Regions from separate parts of the Homo sapiens genome. Here region 2 is linked to region 1. The links are contacts of gene promoters, found by promoter capture Hi-C in blood cells and fetal thymus (Javierre and others, 2016). All regions are on one chromosome and are shown on one strand. The core of a region is centred on a gene start or on the middle of the fragment in contact, and the rest is flanking DNA. Distances in the headings are between cores, read along the strand shown. Region 1 holds the start of ZSCAN5C (zinc finger and SCAN domain containing 5C). Region 2 holds the start of NLRP13 (NLR family pyrin domain containing 13).

Region 1 (2,727 bases), core at 170-2,669:
AGGAGAGGATTGGAGGGAATTGGGTAGGTAGATGGTGGTTTTAGGCAGATTCTAGTTCATTCCACTTAATAACTCCATCTGAACTCTGACTCACTATCAATACCTCAATTCTTAACAAGGAAAAACATCACAGAGTATGAGAAAATGCATCAGAAAATAAGTGTCAGAACTTTTTGGCAAAATGACCTTGTATCGGGCACTTTACTGACATAATCTGGTTTTTTGTTTGTTTGCTTTTTGAGATGGAGTTTTGCTCTTGTTGTCCAGGCTGGAGTGCAATGGCATGATCTCAGCTCACTGTAACCTCCGCCTCCCGGGTTCAAGTGATTCTCCTGCCTGAGCCTCCCGAGTAACTGGGATTACAGGCATGCGCCACCACGCCTGGCTAATTTTGTATTTTTAGTAGAGATGGGGTTTCTCCATGTTGGTCAGGCTGGTCTCAAACTCCTGACCTTGTGATCCACCCGCCTCAGCCTCCCAAAGTGCTGGGATTATAGGCGGGAGCCACCACTTCCGGCCAACATAATCTTATTTAATCTTCAAAACAACATGTCAGGAAGGTAATAATTCCCTGGTTCTAGTCACAGGGAGTTTGAAGTTTCCAGAATTCAGTGGGTTAAGATTTCCTAAGGATTGAAACCAGAATCAGTATAAAGTGCACTTAATTGTCATTCCACATGGTCTCCATGATCCACACAGTAAAATTCATACCACCATTAAGGCTTTTCTTGCTTGAGAGGCCTAACTGAGGGGGTTGAGAACTAGGGAGCACTCAGTATGTCTATAAACCACCTCCCATCATCCTAAAGTGAATGCAGAGTGGGGACCATGTGCCTTCCTCTGGTTCCCACTGTTTTTACCTAAGAGTAGGTTGGCTGATATCAAAGCAGTGATTTAGCCTAGTTCAAGCACAGCTTTCCCATGTCAATTCCCAGATTTTGAAAAGTGAAAAATTATCACTACTACTCATTATGTATCAACAATGACTGTCCCTTTTTTTTTCAATATCTTGACATTCACATGTGAAAGCTTTCCTTAAACTAGAGCAAATCACTGGTTTGATATTATTCAACCAACTCTTAACATGTCCTTTACTCATTAGGATATTACTGTCTGTGCCATGAGGGGACGCAAAGTGGTTAAAACTTGCAGATCTATAGTCCCTGAAGCCTCCAAATACTTCAGAAATATGAAATGTAATTCAGTAGAGCGGGAAAACCTATGTTATTTGCATGGTAGGCATGTTTAATACATTAATTTCCTGTGGGTGGGGTTTCATTGAGAAATGTAATCAATGCTAATCACCTTCAATGGATTCTATGGCCCTAAACCAATCATGTGGGGGCCCAGGGGACTGGAAGAGAGGCCTGGAGTCCCGGGGGTTCTCTATAAATAGACAGTTCAGCTCCAGAGCAGTTGGAGAGCACATCCTAGAAGAGAGGAGGCTGGAGGCAGAAGTCAGGAAGGAGGTAAGTGTCCACTGGGGATGTCTGTGGGGTTTTGGAGTTGGCCTGCAGGGGTTGGTTTCAGAAAGATTTGGATTGAGGGGTTGGTTTCAGAAAGATTTGGGTTGGGGTGTTGGTTTCAGAAAGATTTGGGTTTATTTTTTCATGCATTTGCCCGGACACCTTGTGAAGGCAGTGGGTCTGCTTTGCACCCTATTATTTATTCTGACTTGTTATATAACTCTCCCTTAAAATAGGAATAATATTAACTTTCTCATCGTGGTTAGGCTACATTTTATTTTTTAGAGATGAGATCTCTCTCATTGCCCAGACTAGACTGGAATTCCCGGACTCAAACGATCCGCCTGCCTCTGCTTCCCAAGTAGCAGGAACTACAGGCACTTGCCACCATGCCTGAATAAATGTTTAATTTTTTTTGTACAGATGGGGTCTCAGTACATTGCCCAGGCTGGTCCTGAACTCCTGGGATCAAGCATGCTCCCATCTTGGTCTTCCAAACTGTTGGAATTACAGGTGTGAGCCACCTTGCTGGCCACACACCACTTGTTAAAAAGCATCGCTGGATTCTCCCTTTCCACAGGGTAAAATCAGCCATTGATGAATGGGCATCAACCTACTAGGCCAATGAGAATCTGCACTAAGTGTCCCTACCTGGGGGTCCTGTGTGCTGTATACTCCCAGAATTGAATACTAACCCGCGTACCTGCCTTTATTTTTTCCCATGTCCCATTGCTTGTTTTAATGGGAAATGAACTGACAGCGAATACAAAGTGGTTTCTAGGAACATGAACCCCTTTTTTTAGAGACAGGCTCTCACTATGTTGCCCAGGTGGTTGTCAAACTCCTGGGCTCGAGGGATCCTCCCTCCTCAGCCTCCTGAGCAGCAGCAGGTGCCCTGTGGCAAAATCATTTTTAATTCCAGAATTTCAGGCTGCCTTTTCTCTCTCATATCCATATGCTTTTTCAAAAAAAAAAATTTACTTTTAAATTGAAAAACAAGAAAGATACGTATTTATGGTGTACAGCATAATGTGCTTTGCAGGATAGAAACAATGTAAAATGGGTAAATTGAGCTGATATTCACATGCCTTACTTTATGGACTAATCATTTTTGGTCATGAGGATGCTTAAAGTCTACTCTTTAAGCAATTTCCAATTATACAATACATTGTTATGAACTGAAGTCACCATGTTGGACAATTGCTCTCTTGAACTGATCTCTTCAACTGAAATTCATACCCTTAAACCTATATCTCCCCAA
Region 2 (2,727 bases), core at 125-2,624, 270 kb before region 1:
ATTACCACAATAAACACTGCACGATCCTACAACACCACAATCAGCCCTGTAACACCTCAGCAGGTCTTGCAATGCCACAGAAGATGTGGCATGAAACTTTACCCTGAGTAAAACATGAACTTTGCTTGTGAATATGGGAAGTGTCGCAGCTTGTGAGTTTTTGTGAAGTGAAAGAACAATGATCTGAAATCAGACAGAAAGTGTAGAATGGGCAAGGCTCGTACTGAGGAAGCGGGTAGATGTTTGAGGTACATGCCTGTGTGCATTGTGTACAATCCTACATGGCTCTGCTCGGCTGAGTGCAGGGTCGGTGGGTTGCGGGGGCAGGGCGGGGGTTGTTGTGGTTTCTTAGTGTTTCTCTTGGGCAAAACCATGCATAAGCTAACATGAAATCTGTGCTGCACTCAAATTGTTCCCAGTACGACAATCACACTGGGACAAATTTGCATGTTTAAAAGAAGCCTGGGCTGGGCGCGGTGGCTCACGCCTGTAATCCCAGTGCTTTGGGAGGTCGAGGCGAGCAGATCACGAGGTCAGGAGATTGAGACCATCCTGGCTAACACAGTGAAACCCCGTCTCTACTAAAAATACAAAAAAATTAGCCGGGTGTGGTGGCGGGCGCCTGTAGTCCCAGCTACTTGGGAGGCTGAGGCAGGAGAATCGCTTCAACCTGGGAGGCAGAGGTTACAGTGACCTCAGATCGCACCACTGCACTCCAGCCTGGGCGACAGAGTGGAGACTCAGGCTCAAAAAAAAAAAAAAAAGAAAGAAAGAAAGAAAGAAAAAGGCTTATAACATAACTGAATGTGCCTCTTCCGATTCCCTTTCTTGCCTTTGCTACTCCTTCCCAGGCTAGAGCACTAAATCTTTATAGCCTTTATGCCTTTAAACATCATACTGTCATAGATTATCAAGGAGGATTTGTAGGGGGAGATCGGCAGTGTGGAATGACCCCACAAAAACCCAGCGGCTACCTCCTTGCCTCAGGAGTACCAAGCAGCCCTCCCGCCTTCCTTCTTGAGGACTCTCACCTTTCATCTCGGCTCTAACTTTCTCACACAGTGAGGTCAGATTCATTGTCTGGAAGATGCCGAGGACCACTTTCCATGCCTGACCTTTTGGGAAGTGTTCATCCAAAAGAAAGGACAGATTCAAAGGGTCGGCAGCTCTCAAGTTTGCCCAGGGGATACGCGGGAAGTGCCCCTGGGGGGCCGACCAGAAGTCCATCAGCTGCTGGGGTTCCAAGCAAAGCTTGAATTCCTCCAGCTGATACTGATCCAGGGCCATCAGGTAAGGCAGAAGCCCTTGGTTGGTACCACCGTTGGGGCAGGTGATTACAGAAAAGTTCATCTTGCCCAACACATGCAGTTTCTCACTTCAGCAAAGGACTCCTATATCCACAGGACACTTGTGACCTGCAGAAAAGGAGAGAGTTGAAATCATAAGCCATAAATATCACCTCCTCTCACTGTCTTGCCTACACATTTGAGTATTTTCGCTTCACAGTACTTCCTGCTACTTGTGTTAGTACACTTTTTTGTTGTTGTTTTGTTTTTTGAGATGGAGTCTCGCTCTGTCCCCCAAGCTGAAGTGCAATGGTGCGATCTCGGCTCACTGCAAGCTCCGCCTCCCGGGTTCACGCCATTCTCCTGCCTCAGCCTCTTGAGTAGCTGGGACTACAGGTGCCCGCCACCACGCCCAGCTAGTTTTTTTTGTATTTTTAGTACAGATGGGGTTTCACCGTGTTAGCCAGGATGGTCTCGATCTCCTGACCTTGTGATCCGCCCGCCTCGGCCTCCCAAAGTGTTGGGATTACAGGCGTGAGCCACCGGGCCCGGCCTCAACTGGGTATTTTCTCTAGCAACCTTACCTAGACTCGAGATCACTGGCTTTCATCCCATCCCAGAAGGAACAATGCCATCAGCACCTGATTTATCTGCCTTACTAACAGTGACAGCTGTCCTAGAAAAGTTACAGGTGCATGATGGTACTTACCAACTCACATTCAGAGGGTTCACCTGAAATGTGAATAAGAAGAACATTGAAGTTAATTAGTCACAGTAAAGATCAAAGACATTTGAGAGATGGGAACGGGGGAAACTAATCAGGGAGAAGGGGTAACAAAGAGAGAAAATAGAAGTTTCCGCCCATCACGATTTTGGCCACCAGGCAGCTAATGGTGATTGAGACAGATCTGCCACTATTCCCCCATAGAACCTGGTCCGGCATGTATGCTGGGTCATGTCAAAATACCAGGTAGTATTGAAGGCAACAGATAGACAGCAGAACAAAAGACTTTTTTTTTTGTGATGGAGTTTCGCTCTCGTTGCCCAGGCTGGAGTGCAATGGCTGGATCTCGGCTCACTGGAGTCTTTGCCTCCCAGGTTCAAGTGATTCTCTTGCCTCAGCGTCCGAGTAGCTGGGACTACAGGTGCATACTGGCCTTGGCCTCCCAAAATGCTGGGATTACAGGCATGAGCCACCATGCCTGGCCCAAAACACTATGCTTGAAGCTACTGGTGTGTGACCCCCGAATGTCTCCCAAAGAGAAATCTCCAGAAGAGATGTATGTTAGGACCTACCCTGGCAGCCCAAATTCATTGGACTACTCCAGAAATTGTTGGAGAAAAGATGGGGAAAGACACACAGAGGAAAACTTGAAACATCATGAAGAAAAGCCCTTTCAGGTATAAGCAGGGAGGATAAAGACTAGGGGAAAAGCTTATT

The links. Contacts are between HindIII fragments. The CHiCAGO score rates a contact against its expected background, and 5 or more counts as called.
Region 2: a contact is called between the fragment with the promoter of NLRP13 here and the fragment with the promoter of ZSCAN5C in region 1, in 4 of 17 cell types (total B cells, naive CD8 T cells, activated CD4 T cells and 1 more). The highest score is 6.4, in total B cells.

The regions. Positions count from the first base shown.
Region 1 is chr19:56,200,854-56,203,580 of GRCh38, forward strand. It overlaps ZSCAN5C (zinc finger and SCAN domain containing 5C), which reads left to right and starts at 1,420. Exons shown (of 5, transcript NM_001358413.3): 1 at 1,420-1,469. The HindIII fragment of the contact is 5,550 bases long and covers 1,028-2,727 here.
Region 2 is chr19:55,930,962-55,933,688 of GRCh38, forward strand. It overlaps NLRP13 (NLR family pyrin domain containing 13), which reads right to left and starts at 1,375. Exons shown (of 11, transcript NM_176810.2): 1 at 1,032-1,375. The coding sequence starts at 1,350. The HindIII fragment of the contact is 1,470 bases long and covers 1,250-2,719 here.